Linked DNA regions of Homo sapiens: regions 1 and 3 are each linked to region 2. The links are contacts of gene promoters, found by promoter capture Hi-C in blood cells and fetal thymus (Javierre and others, 2016). All regions are on one chromosome and are shown on one strand. The core of a region is centred on a gene start or on the middle of the fragment in contact, and the rest is flanking DNA. Distances in the headings are between cores, read along the strand shown.

Region 1 (4,767 bases), core at 701-3,200, 260 kb after region 2:
AGTGAACTAATGGGATATAAGGAACCTCTTACGTCCCAGACACCATGCTTAGCATTATGCACAGTTATCCATTTAATCTCACAGCCTTGCAAGGGGGTATTATATCCACTGTTTGAGGGCGGAGAAAACAGGCTCACACAAAGTAGTAGCTTCCAGGGGTCTCACAGTTAATATTAATGAAAGGCTTGGGCTTATACATAGGTGTTTCAGGTTCCACATTGCAAAGCATTATCTCAGGGACGATCTATGGCATGCGCATCCCGATAAAAACGTACCAAATTTATTGGCTATCAACTACAGTTCCATCTGGAAATACTCAGCAAATAATGGCAGTAAGGCATCCCGCCACTTCCTGCATGATTAGTTGAAAAAGAAACACCTGCGCACACACATTTGAACAATGTGATACAGCTAAGGACCTGGACAGTCAGCTAGCAGGAAGAAACATTTGAACGAAGGGTAGACCACGGCCTAGGAGGTGGATGAAGACACCCGTCCGTTTGCCTACTGAAGCAAGATGGGGCTGAGGCGCTCAAGGGCCTATTGGCTGCCCAGAAGCCTTTGCAGCGCCGCCTGAATACAGCGAGGATGACCCAGGGTTCACCTTCAGCGTTGAAGGCAAGTCCTGGTATAAGGGACGCACATAGGTCCGCGCCACATCCTGACACTGTTTCCACAGGAAGTGCGGGATAGGAGGGGGGATTCATTAATCCAGGTCGGAAATACACCTTGTTCCTCGAGGATTTTGGAAGGAAATTCCACCCGCGAAGTCCCCTTTTGGAGATGCCCTTTTCCTTTCAGGTACAGCATCCTTCATTATGTACCCCCAGGGTACAATGTATCCGGGGCTCGCAACGCGTCCCTCAACCCCCAGCAGCGCGGTCACCGCGGGGTCCCCGGGCGGGCGGGGGCGGCGGTGACGCAGGAGGCGGTGGGGCCCCGGTGCGGCGGGCGCGGGGAGGGGGCTGCTGGGCGCGGGCCTATCAGGACGCGCGGTGTTTCGGGCGCGGGGAGGGCGGGGACCTCCAGGTTTCCTCGGGGCCCGGCGCAGCGCCGCCTGCCGAGTTCCGAGCGAGCGCGCGAAGCGCGCAGGGGTCTCGAGACGTTCCCGCCGGTCCCGGTTTTCCTCCGCGGCTCCCCCGCCCCTTCACGTCCGCCTCTTTCTCCAACCAGACGCGGCTCCGACGGCGCTCGGCCTCTGCTCTTCCGGCTCCCCGGCTCTGCCCGCAGCGCGCGTCGCCCGGTTGCTCTTCGCCTGGTGTCCGCGGGCCCGGCGGGGGCGCCTCACCCCGGGCGCGCGGCGGTAATGCCGCTGCCGCCCTTGCGGCCAGGCAGGCAGCTGGCGGCGGCCGGAGTCGGAGCGCGTTCGTCGCTGGCCGGGACGCCGCCCTGGCCTGTGCTCAGCTCCCGCGGCGGCCGCGGGGCGCCGGGGCCCGGCGCGGCATGAGGAGGCGGCTCGGTGCAGGCGAGCGCCCAGCTCCTCGGCCCCGAGGGCCCCCGCGGGCCCCCGCGCGTGGCGCGCGCTGGTTGCGGCCCCGGCGCCCACGCTAGCCCCGCGCAGGCAGGAGACGCCGCGGCCCGGAGTAGGAGGCGGCGCAGGGCCTGCCGAGCGGACGCGGGCGGCCCGGACCTTAAGCACGGGGCTTCGCGGCGGGACCCCGCCGGGCGCGGGCAGCGGAGCCGGGCGTGCTGCAGTTAGCTGCCCCTCTCCGCAGGGGCGCCGCGGCGCGCAGCCTGCGCCTCCTCCCACCTGCAGCCCCTCCTCCCGCCGCTGCTTGGCGGAGAAAACGCTCCTCCTCGCCCTTCCCCGGCTTTCTTCCGTCCTGCCGTCCCCGGGCCCCTAGCCCCCAGTCCCCTCTCCCCCCTCCACCTCTTGTCCCTCGGCCTCCGCGCCTCCCCTCCCCCGACTCTCTGGCCTCCCATTCATTCCGTCCGCTCCCTCCCATTTCCTCTTTTCCGCTCGGGCCCTCTCCCCAGAGCCTCCCCGCGCGGACCCCGCTGCAGTCTCGGGGTTCTCAGCACATTTATGGAAGTTTAGGGCCTGGACAGTGGCCCCGAGTCCGGCCTGAGAGCGCAGCCTGGGCTGCTGGCAGGGAAGAGGAAGATGTCTGTGCTCAGGCGGATGATGCGGGTTTCCAATCGCTCTCTCCTCGCCTTCATCTTCTTCTTCTCCCTCTCTTCGTCCTGTCTGTACTTCATCTATGTGGCCCCAGGCATCGGTAAGCACCGAGACACACCCTCGCTTCCCCTGGTCACACCACAGCCAGCGCAGGCTGTTATCCGATGTTACTTCTGGGATTTGGAAGCTGTTCAAACAGGGGCCCGCAGAAAAGCGTTTTGTTTTAAATGTTATTTCAGACGTGTCAAACTGCTTCAGGGCATGGCTTTGGTATGTGAGTTTTGTTAATGCATGCATTTTGTTAATGCATGTTTGTTAATAACGTAAAAGATTGCATTAAATAGACGTAGCAAAATTAGTGTGATGGCCCGGGATGCCCTAGTCGCTTTCTTGAGTGTTCATGACAGCTTTATCCATTTAATGTTAAGTCTTTAAGCCTAAACTGAGTGCTTAATCGTAGTTTTATTCAAACACTCTCGGGTATAATAACTGGTTGTAAAAATATGGAGGAGCCAGCAGCAGGGAATGTGATTGAGTCCAACAATGTGTGTTTTCTAGGGTCCTAGGTCGCTTTTTTAGAATGGGGTCAGTGGACCCCATTCTTTTTGTGCCATACTTGGGGAATTTTAAGGCGATGAGTTGTCTTGTAAAAACAATGCTCCATTATTTTAGTCTGCTTGGGTGTTATTTTCAAGGGTACGTTGCCTTTGCTACCTGTTAGGATGACTTCTGAGAAAATAGTGATTAAAATAACCGTTATCTAAGGGAACTTGTAGTTTAAAATGTTAACCGGTTTATCATTTTTTGGCCTTTGGTGCAAAATACACTTTTGTAAAACTGCTTGAATTAACTTCTTTATTAAATATCCGAATTCCTCGTCCCCCATTTGTTGAAAAGGAGCCAATGCGGCGTTAATTCTAGTGAATGAGAATTATGAACTTCACATGCATATTAAAATATGTCATATTTCCAAAACTTTTCTGAGTTTTTCCTGGCTATTACGTATTTAATGTTCAATTACTTAGTAACAGTGAGCATCTCCTCTCATTTCTCCTTACACACTGTGGTCGTTTGAGCCAGTGCTCTTTGTTCCGAGTTAGCTAAAAATGTAATGCCCCTTACAGAGTGAAAACACCTGCAGAATTTTCAGATGGAATGATCAGGGCATTGTCTTGAGTGTAGTAGATTATTGCAGTGAATTGCAGCAGGGAAGGAAGATGGAAACCTAATCCAGACTGCTTCATTTCTTAAAATTACTATGAGACTTTTTCTTTAATAATTAATTTTTGGATTCAGTGAGGTGTATAAACTCAGATGATGATGTTTAAGAAGAAATGCATTGTGAAACGTTGACGTATCCCAAAATAGAAGTTTTAGGGTAAAGTTTGAAGAATATTTTAACATTATTGCAGTTTTCCTTTAGGCCAGAAAAAACAAAAAACCTCACAAAAACCTACCCCTTGAAGCCTATAGTACAAATGACAGTGGTAGCTTAGTGGATTTGATATTATCTAGATACTCAACAAGAGCTTTCTTTATTTTTTGCCATTTTGGAGTCTTATAAATTAACTCTTCATTCTATAGCAATTTTTACTTTCTCATGTAACTCTTTAAAAGTTTGGACATCTTTGGGGTATGTTTTTTTACTAGGAATTTAACTTTGAAAGATTTTGGAGAAAGTTTTTTTCACACTTACATAACAATTTTCCCACTTTCTTAGTATTATGAGTAACATGTTAAAGTTATATTACTCAAAAAGCTAACCAAAGGAAATCAGAATTCTAGTCATCCCTTTTTTTTTAAAGTTAGTGCGTCAGTATATTATTTGTAGATTCTTAATTCAACTTGTGTGAAACACTAATAAATTTTCCTTATTTGAATGCTTAATGTTTGCCATAGAACGGTCACTGATATAATGTAAAAATGTTGGCACGTGTCTTGTAGGCAATTAGATTGATGTGGCTTAACCTACTCTGTTTTTGTAGGTCTTATAAATGATAATAAGTTATTAAAACCAGTTAGAAGAGTGCAAACCAAAAACTTACAAAATGCTGTGAAATTGTCAAGCTGAATCTGTTTCCAAAACCCTGTACCATTTAGCCAAAAAAAGCCTCCTTTTTAATCTTTTGTATCTTTAAGTATTGGGAAGCAGTTTTCCAAAATTCAGATTTTCGCTTGAAAGTTTGAATTTTATCATTGGCAACAAATACTGTCAGTTTTTCTTGAAGTGTCAGGCTCACTTTGCTCATTTTCGAGAAAATGTAGGTCAGATGCACAAGTTTAACCATAGTTTTTCAGTTGTTCTTTCAAGTAAAAATGATGTTCCATGAAAAATGTGGCTTGTTGAGTCCATACTGCAGCAATCAATCAATTGCACAAGTGCTTCAGATTTCTTATTTATGAGACATATCCAGAAGTAATTAGGTTCTTATAACTAGTTTTTATTCGATGTATGTGGATTTTTCTTGAAATAATAACTTCAAGAAAATAATTCATATTTTAGCCTGAATTACATCTTGGGGCAAAATGTGTTTATGACTAAAATGTATGTTGTAAGTACTTTTTATGTGCCCTAAAAAGCGTTTCAAATCTCCTCTGTTAAGAAATTCCTATTAATCCTACCATATCAACCTGTTTGGTAAACTTTA
Region 2 (4,865 bases), core at 60-2,559:
CCTTTCCCCTTTAAATTTGGAGCACTCAAAATCATCTTCGAAGAAAGGCATAGACCTGTTTCCTGGGCTCGTACTTAACTTCGGCAAATAAATCTCCTAAAGTGATGGACTCTCTTATAAATTAATCTGTAGCCAAGGCATGTCATCAATATGTCCTACTGTGCCTTCCTACCTCCCATTTATCAACTTACATGAGAAGCACACATCTTACTTGTCATAAATTATTACCTTAGTGAAAACCTGAGGGTGTCAAGAAGTCGAAAAATTTGAGACATTGACGTTGGGGAAGACACCTTTAATTAGAGCACCATAAAATCATGATAGAATGATACATTTTTCCTTGCCTTATATTTTTGGCATGCAAAACAGAAGGAGCTCAAACAATTGAGTGACACATTAGTAAAATTCCTTTCATTCATTTCTACTTACAAGGCACACACCATTGACCTCACCCCGTCCCCCCCTTTAAAACAATATTTGACCCGCGCCCCCCCCCCTTTAAAGCAATCTTTGAAAAGTTAGGAATGAAAGCCGGTTCAGGACAGTACACAGTACACAAATACTGGCTTCCCCTACCTCCACCACAAGCAAGTAAACATCCTAGCACAGTGTAAAAAGGAAGAGGCTGAGGACGAACCACGCGGACATTTGCAGGCACACCCCTTCCCTGCGACCAACAAAAATGCAGTAGCGCAATTACACTTGAAGGAATTGCAGCACTCACAAAAGCACACATTCTGTTCAATGGTTGAGTCCACATAAAGTGACAGTCCGTTTCTAAAAGCATGGCTGTATTTAAAGGACACATGGTCTGTTCAGGTCCGCTTCAGCGAAACCCCAAGCACTTCCGAGAGATCCACTCCCTCTCTCCGAGCAGGTGCCACTAGCTGCTCCGCCGGCGAGCGTAGGAAGCAGCGCGACCAACCAAATCGGTTGCCCACAACAGCCAGGGACGTCAAAAAGGCCAAACTGCGTGGGAAGCGAGCGTGCGCCTCCATCACCACGACAGCACCCGTCTCGAGGCTCCACCTGCCGCTAGTAGGTGGCTCTCAGCTCTGCTCTGCTAAGGGCGAGCTTGAGAACCCGGCCTACAGTTGTGCACCTCCCCCCGCCCCCGCCCCCGCCCCCGCCCCCGCCCACCGCACTTGTAGCCCCGCCCCGCCCAGGGAGCTTCCGTCACAACACTTCCGGCTCCAGCCTCCCAACCGGCCTCCGTCGTTTTTCACTTCCCTCTCCTCAGCTCTCTTCCCTTGCCCCTACCGTCTCCTTTAACACAGTCACGTGAGGGACGCGCGCGGGGGCAGCTGGGAGTAGTACTGCCGGTTGGTCAGGGTTCGGCCTCAACATGGCGGTTCCGGCCGGGCAGTGACCAAGGTTTTGCCGTCCGAAGGACTAAGTGGTGACTGTCGGCGTCTCCACCTATCGGGGTGGAATGCGAGCACGCGGGGACGAGCGCTGAGAAGCGGCGGTGACGGGAAGGGGGGGGTCAGTGGATTGTGCCCCAGAAACCGAAGCGGCGGCGTCTGTTCCTTCTTGTTTCTAGGCTCCAGTGCGTTCGGGGCCCCGCCCGGCCGGGCCAGGCCGGCGGGCGGCGGCGGTAGCTGCTGCAGCCGCAGGATAACCTCGCAGGGTGGGCCGGAGGGCGGGCGCCGCCGCTGCCTGTGCTGCGGCGATGGCCCAGTGTGTACAATCAGTGCAGGAGCTAATCCCGGACTCCTTCGTCCCCTGTGTCGCTGCGCTGTGCAGCGACGAAGCCGAGCGGCTCACTCGTCTCAATCACCTCAGCTTCGCGGAGCTGCTTAAGCCCTTCTCCCGCCTCACTTCCGAGGGTATGTGGTATCCTCCCTTTTCCAGTGGGCTCCCGCAAAGCCGTGGTCGGGAGAAGGAAGTTGCGGGCGGGCAGGGAAGAGAAGGGCAGTGTTTACGTCCTGGAGCCGGTACCGTGGCGTCTGGGGCTGTGGCCCCGCGGTGCTCCGGGGGCGGCTGGAGGAGGGACCGTGAGGTTGTCAAGACAGCGCAGTCCTAAGCTCCAGTTTCTCTGGGCACTTCCTTTCTTCCTCGGACAACCTAGGTCGTTAAGTAATTGGTGCAAAGATAAACGTGAGTCTTCGAGAACGGCATTGAGACTGTTCTCCACGGCCATAGCGAAGGAATTAGGCACTTGCAAAGCAGCTAAGGTAGGAAAATGCTGCCTCTTAGACCGACAGGGTCTGAGTAAGGAAGACCTGTCATCCTCCCTTGGATGTTAAACTGGACTTTGAAAGTAGTTGTGGATGTTATTACATTCTTGTAGCGTTGAGGGTCATCTCTGTCTGAACTACCGTGTAGCTGTTTTACTAATATATTCTTAGCTATACGGTATTTTGCTTAACCTCTCAAGAAAATTAAAAGTATTATAAGAAGAATAAAACTTGAAGCAGCTTTTTGCCCTAAGGAAGAGGAAGCAAGCCCAAGTTGTGGTTAATTTAACCTGGATATTTGGAGTTATCTATAGTTATAGGGATGGAAATGTCTTCTCTTGTTAATGAATGTCTTGTTAAGAAGCTACCCGTTTTCTCCAGTTTTGGATTTTTTTATTAGGAGAAAATAATGTGGTAAAGCTTCAAGCATGTTTTAGCCAATATCTTGCAAACAACAAAGTCCAAGTAAAGTTTTTTTTGTTAAGGTCGGTAAGAACTGAAGGGTTTCATAATAAGCCTGTGTCAGGCAAACGACTGTGATGTTTGTTAGCTTAATATGACTTATCCACAAAAAAAATCAGTGCTGTACCATTTTTGCGCTACCATGTTTTTTGGGAGAATAGTTCCATTATAAATTAGCTTTTGTTTTTAGCGGAGAGAGGGAGCTGTCCAAAAAAACAAAGTTTGGAAACTTTTGGATTTTCTTTAGCCTGTATCGTAGCCATCAGTCTCAGTTCCTTCAGTGTTGGACTTAAGAGCAACAAAATGCCCTACGTTTTTTATTTTTTTGTTATTTATTTATTTATTTATTTTGAGATGGAGTTTCGCTCTTGTTGCCCAGACTGGAGTGCAGTGGCGCGATCTCAGCCCACCGCCACCTCCGCCTCCCAGGTTCAAGCGATTCTCCTGCCTCAGCCTTCTGAGTAACTGAGATTACAGGCATGCGCCACCATACTCGGATAATTTTTGTATTTTTAGTAGAGACAGGGTTTCTCCATGTTGGTCAGGTTGGTCTCGAACTCCCGACCTCAGGTGATCTGCCCGCCTCGGCCTCGCAAAGTGCGGGGATTATGGGCGTGAGCCACCGCGCCCGGCCTTGAATTCCTAAAAAAACACAAACACTTGAGCTAGTTTTACTTTTATATGTGTACTCTTTCCTTCTTTCTTAATAAATAATAATAATGCTAATACCTGATACTTGCTTTGTGTAACTTTTCTTTTTTAGTCCTCATTGAATCCTGTTATTGCAATTTTAAATTTGAGGACCTTGAAGCATAGAAGTGTTAATTTGTTCACAGTTTTGCGTCTGGGAAAGATTTGAAACAGGCAGTGTGACTCAAGACATTGTGTTCTTAATCATCTTATCTCCTGACAGTATTTAGAATTATGTATTTACACCATAGAGCAGTGCTGTCTAATTGAAATATAATGTGAGTCACAGGTATAATTAAAAAATTTTCGGCCGGGCGCGGTGGCTCACGCTTGTAATCCCAGCTCTTTGGGAGGCCGAGGCGGGTGGATCACGAGGTCAGGAGTTCGAGACCATCCTGGCCAACATGGTGAAACCCCGTTTCTACTAAAAATACAAAAATTAGCTGGGCGTGGTGGTGGGCGCCTGTAGTCCCAGCTACTCGAGAAGCTGAGGCAGGAGAATCACTTGAACCCGGGAGGCACAGTGAGACTCCATCTCAAAACCAACCAAACAAACAACAACAACAAAAAATTTTAGTAGCCACATTAAAAAAGTAAAAAGAAACAAGTGAAATTAGTTTTTTTGTTTTTTGTTTTTTGGAGATGGAGTCTTGCCCTGTTGCCCAGGCTGGGAGTGCAGTGGCGCGATCTTGGCTCACTACAACCTCTGCCTCCCAGGTTCAAGCGATTTTCCAGCCTCAGCCTCCCGAGTAGCTGGGATTACAGGCGCTCACGGCTTATTTTTGTATTTTTAGTAGAGACAGGGTTTCACCATGTTGGCCAGGCTGGTCTCGAACTCCTGACCTCGTGGTCCGCCCGCCTCCGCCTCCCAAAGTGCTGGGATTACAGGCGTGAGCCACCGTGCCCGGCCGAAATTAGTTTTAATACTGTATTTTATTTAACTCAGTATTTCCAAAATGTTACTATTTCAATGTGTAATCAATGTGAAAAATATTCATGAGATATTTTACATTCTTTTTTATTGCTTAGTCTTTGAAATTTGGTGTGCCTTTTATACTTAACATCTCAATTTGTACTAGTCACATTTCAAGTACTCAGTAGCCATATGCAGCTGTTGCCTACTGTATTGGACAGTGCTGTGATAGCGGCTCATTGTCAGTACACTTCTGATTTCCTTCAGGAGACTGGGGAAGATTAGGGAAGGAGTTTTTTTGTTTGTTTGTTTTTTGTTTTGAGACAAGGTCTTGCTCTGTTACCCACGCTGGGAGGGCTGGAGTGCAATTGTATCACCATAGCTCCCTCACCCACTGCAGCCTCAACTTCCCAGGTTCTAGCTATCCTCTTGTCTCAGCCTCCCAAGTAGCTGGGACTACAGGCACATGCCATCATGCCTGGCTAATTTTTAAATTTTTTGTAGAGATGGGGTTTCTCCTTGTTGCCCAGGCTCGTCTCGGACCACTGCGTCCAGCCTAGTGAAGGAGTATAATGAGTTGGACGTTAGTGGACAGGTAGACAGTTGGTAGAAAGCAAGAG
Region 3 (4,601 bases), core at 210-2,709, 280 kb after region 2:
GAAATTTGGGTCCTATTTTTGAAGCACTTATTGTGAATAATTAAATTGAGCTGCTTTAAAAATACACATTGATTTTGATTTTATTTGCTTTTACCATCCTGGTAGAAAGATTTGTGATTGAAAGGGAGTGTAAAAGTTTAATTAACTCTTAGAAATGACCCAAACAGATACTGATCCTAGATCACCCCTCCCCGCAAACACATCAAGAATTTTCAGGACCATTGCAAGATCTTTATTCCTACTAGATATTATGGGATTTATAAGGAATCCTAGCTTTTGTGAAGTTTTTGGTAGGAAATTAATATATAATTAGAGAAACTGAATTTTGTAACTGTAGGATTGAGCATCTGTAATAAAATGCCTTTTTGAAATTTCTAAGTATATTTTATAGTAGAAAATCACAGATGTGGGGGTTCATTATAATATTTTAGTTTGTTCAGTTAGTTTCATTCTATTTGATAGGTGGGTATTTCAACTTTTTTTTTGTTTTTATTCTTAAAAAATCAGTTTGTTTTTGTCAGTTTTTATAGTAGGCAATATTTTATATTTCTGTTTTGCGTTTGGACGTGCTGATTGAGTCAGTTTATGTTTATTGGGCACTTCCCCAATTCTGAATATTATTTTATTAAATAAAAAAAAGCTTACTGTGTTATGACATTCTTTCTCTATTTTTCTTTTATAGCCAACACATATCTCTTTATGGTACAAGCTCGAGGTATAATGTTGAGAGAAAATGTGAAAACAATAGGTCATATGATCAGGCTGTACACAAATAAAAACAGTACGCTCAACGGTACAGGTAAGACTACTTCCTGCTTAACCCCTTGTAGTTACAAAGCAGTAAACCAAATCTTTTACAGTCTGTTTTGCCTTCAGGTAACTTCCTGTTAAAGATGAAGAAGGTATCTTCCCCTAAGCGTCCTGGTAGATTATTTTACTGTGCAAATCAAGACTGTTACCTATTTTAGGATGTATGAACGTGTGGTCACAAAAGTGATGAGGTTTTGTACAGACACTTAAGTTAATTCTTGTAAACAAAATATAGAAAGCAGCTTCTACTTTTTCAATTCGTATGTTGTATTTAAGAGAAATTAACCAGAGAATAATTTATTCATCTTAGTAAGCCATACTACCATCTCTCTTTATGTTCATTCTAGTTCCTAAGTTGTTCTTCCAACTAGGTCTAGAAAATAGTTGTTTTTAATTATAGAAGATTGTTAATAGTGTTATGGCCTTTTTAAGGAGCTAAAGGAGAAATTTTATAAAATTGGAAATTGGTAGCTACTCCTTTTTATTTTACTTATTTATTTTTTTAGACAGAGTCTCGCTCTGTTGCCCAGGCTGGAGTGCAGTGGCGCAATCTTGGCTCACTGCAAGCTCCATCTACCAGGTTCACGCCATTCTCACGCCTCAGTCTCCCAAGTAGCTGGGATTACAGGCGCCCATCACCACGCCCGGCTAATTTTTTTTTAAATTTTTGATAGAGACGGGGTTTCACCATGTTAGCCAAGATGGTCTCAATCTCTTGACCTCGTGATACGCCCGCTTCAGCCTCCGAAAGTGCTGGGATTACAGGCATGAGCCACTGTGCCCGGCCTACTCTTGTCTTTTTAAAATGTTACCTGGAAGTAGAAGCTCCATTAGAATTCCAGGAGGTTAAAATCTAATAGGCTGAACCAATAATTTAATGATGGTAGAATTGATGTAAATAGATTTCACTATTGTGGAAGAATGTGAATGCTCGTTTATGGCAGGGTTGCCACAGTGTCTGCCAGGGTATTATTAGGTGTTACTTTAAAGGATTCAGTGGGGTTGTCAGTTGTTGTACCCTTTATGGTCTCATTTTGAACAGTTAAAAATAAAGATTTAATTTGTGTTAGTAATTCTTCCTTGTGTCACTGTAAACCTACACATTCTACTAAGAGAAAGTCTGTCTTTCAGCTGTAGATGTTCTTTCTTAAATGTATGTCAAGGTGGGTGATAGTTTTAGACCCTTCTAAAAATTCAAGACTGTGACATATTGATCTCAATTTAATATCACATGTGCTTCTATAAAATCCATTCTAGTCATTTGCCTAATATGTTTATGATGCCACAAATCAAAACACTCTTGTTTTATTTTAATTTTTTAACCTTGAAGGAATTTTTTTAGAAGAACTGCCTCAGCATAGTTGATGTTTTAATTCTACAGTAAAAGTCTCATTAACTATTCTTTAGCATGAATGAGTCTTCTGAATAGTAGGTCAATTTTAGAAGTTTAAACATTTTAAAAGCTTCTGTAGGATTTGTGCTGGTTGAATAAGTTGATTGTAAAAATGTTCACTGAAAGTTTGTTCAACTGAAAGGAAATAGACATCTTTAAATTGGTGTATTTGTGTGAGTGCTAAAAATTTGTGCATATCAGCTTGTTTTCCCTGGGGTATGAATAAGGTATATGTGTGGATGTTGAGCTTGATTAGGAGGAATGATTACATGGGCAAGACAATCTTTCCCCATAGTATCCTGCAACCAAAAAAAAAAAAAAAGGAAAATCCTTTCCTCCTCTCACCAAGTCATAGTTTCAATAAAGACCAAAGAACCAATGCATACTTAGATTAAAGTTTGCTTACTTTTATGAAACTTTGAAAACTTTTCATAGGGTTCCTTTACTAATGGTAAAACTGTTCTCAGGAAACAGTCATTGTATACATTAGGGATTAGGTTTGGATGTAACAGAGACCTGCCTGTGGTGGTTTAAACACATGAGGCTTTCTGTTCTCATGTGAAAGAACTCTGCAAGTTGGATATCTGTGGCTGTTATGGAGGCTCCTTAAAGTAAGTCATCACACACTTTTCATTTTCTGCCATCTGTCATGTGGCTCCATGGTTAACTCATAGTCTAAGATGGCTGCTGTTTGAACTTGGGTCAGTAGGAAGGAGGAAAGCGAGAACAAAGAAGAACAAATAAGGTACCTCTTTTCTGGAGCCTTCCCAGAGGTCCCACACAGTATTTCTTCATACATTTAATTGGCTAGAACTTAATTGCATGGCCACATGCGATAACACTGGGAAATATAGTCTTGACCAGAGTATGCTGGAACTCTAGTGAAACTGGCATTCTGTTACCTACGGGGAAAGGGAAGAATGGAGTTTGAGTCAGCAATGAGGCTCCGCCATGTTCATTTAGCCAACATTTACGAATAATTATTATAGTTAGTATATTTAACCAGATATTGGAGACACAATATTAAGAAAAACAGTCTCCTTTAATATGAGGATCTCTAGGCCTCTGGGAGAGATGGAAACATGAATAGTTATTTATAATGCAACTGGTTATTTCTACATAGACTTCTATAGATACAATATCCAAAAAAGAAGATAATGGCCTATAAGGTGTACAAAAAGCTAACTGAGCTCTAGAGGGGAATTGATTAATATGCAGTGGCTCATTTATAATTTAACACTAAATGATAAATAGATTGTGATAGTTATAAGCACATTTGATTTCCAAAAGGGGTTTTTAATCCTATACCTGACTTTCTGTGGCATCAAATATAAATAGATGTATACTATTTTTGTAAATAAATTATATACTCTCATAATCAGATGGTGCCATGTAGCCCACAGAGCCAAATTATGAAAACAAGACGTATTCAGTGAATTCATCTAATTACTGAAGCAGATAAGGGCCATGCAATGTTAGAGTGGATAGGTTTGTTGGAAATAACCCAGCATGCCTCCTCATTTGATGGGTACATGAATTGAGGCCCCCAGACACTGCCAGACTGACAAGACAAGTTAGTGGGAAACAGACTAGGACTCTCATCGGTTTCTAACACCTGTTTTAAGCTGCTGTTTCGCAGCAAAATAAAGCCATTAAAAGGTGTTCTTTGGTGCTGTCCTCCTTTTCCTTTAAGTGATAAGGTCCAGTGAGAATTAGTAGGGGATCCATCTGGCAGTTTTCATTCTTTGTTTGCCTTTTCTTTGGTTGTGTTTCTGGAAGGGAGGAAGAAAGCAGGGGGCCCAGAGCTCATTTTATTTTTATCCATTCATTAGATGAAATAATGTCTACCTTTTATAGCAGTTGTGGTGGTTCCCAAATGCATCTGTCATACATAACCTTTTAAAATGCTTCCTGACTTTGAAAGCAGTGGTTATACATGATGGACATTGCTCACCTAACAACTTTTGTAGGAATAATGATTTTGTGGGTTTTTTTGTTTTTGTTTTTTTTTGAGACAGAGTCTCGCTCTGTCGCCCAGGCTGAAGTGCAGTGGTATGATCTCAGCTCACTGCAAGCTCCGCCTCCTGGGTTCAGGCCATTCTCCTGCCTCCACCTCCCAAGTAGGTGGGACTACAGGCGCCCGCCACCATGCCTGGCTAATTTTTTGTATTTTTAGTAGAGACGGGGTTTCACCGTGTTAGCCAGGATGGTCTTGATCTCCTGACCTTGTGGTCCACCCTTTTGGCCTCCCAAAGTGCTGGGATTACAGGCATGAGCCACTACGCCCAGCCAATTTTGTGGGTTTATTACAGTAAAATCTCCAAAAGCTTAAATCATTATTGGCTGTATTATCATTTGTGAGGTGTTTATTTATAGTATGTTCCTACTATGTTGTAGG

The links. The method cuts DNA at HindIII sites, captures the fragments that hold promoters and counts their contacts. A CHiCAGO score of 5 or more calls a contact.
Region 1: a contact is called between the fragment with the promoter of B4GALT6 here and the fragment with the promoter of TRAPPC8 in region 2, in 1 of 17 cell types (fetal thymus). The highest score is 5.1, in fetal thymus.
Region 3: a contact is called between a fragment that was not itself captured here and the fragment with the promoter of TRAPPC8 in region 2, in 1 of 17 cell types (fetal thymus). The highest score is 5.3, in fetal thymus.

Annotation. Positions count from the first base shown.
Region 1 is chr18:31,681,764-31,686,530 of GRCh38, reverse strand. It overlaps B4GALT6 (beta-1,4-galactosyltransferase 6), which reads left to right and starts at 1,950. Exons shown (of 9, transcript NM_004775.5): 1 at 1,950-2,219. The coding sequence starts at 2,105. RefSeq lists a silencer at 814-1,853. The HindIII fragment of the contact is 10,803 bases long and covers 1-4,767 here.
Region 2 is chr18:31,939,572-31,944,436 of GRCh38, reverse strand. TRAPPC8 (trafficking protein particle complex subunit 8) reads left to right here and starts at 1,309. Exons shown (of 29, transcript NM_014939.5): 1 at 1,309-1,829. The coding sequence starts at 1,673. RefSeq lists enhancers at 1,325-1,534, 1,636-2,414 and a silencer at 1,585-1,704. The HindIII fragment of the contact is 12,839 bases long and covers 1-2,602 here.
Region 3 is chr18:31,662,454-31,667,054 of GRCh38, reverse strand. It overlaps B4GALT6 (beta-1,4-galactosyltransferase 6), which reads left to right. Exons shown (of 9, transcript NM_004775.5): 2 at 683-799. Among named protein-coding and RNA genes, the nearest start is that of B4GALT6, 20 kb to the left of the region's middle. The HindIII fragment of the contact is 1,633 bases long and covers 643-2,275 here.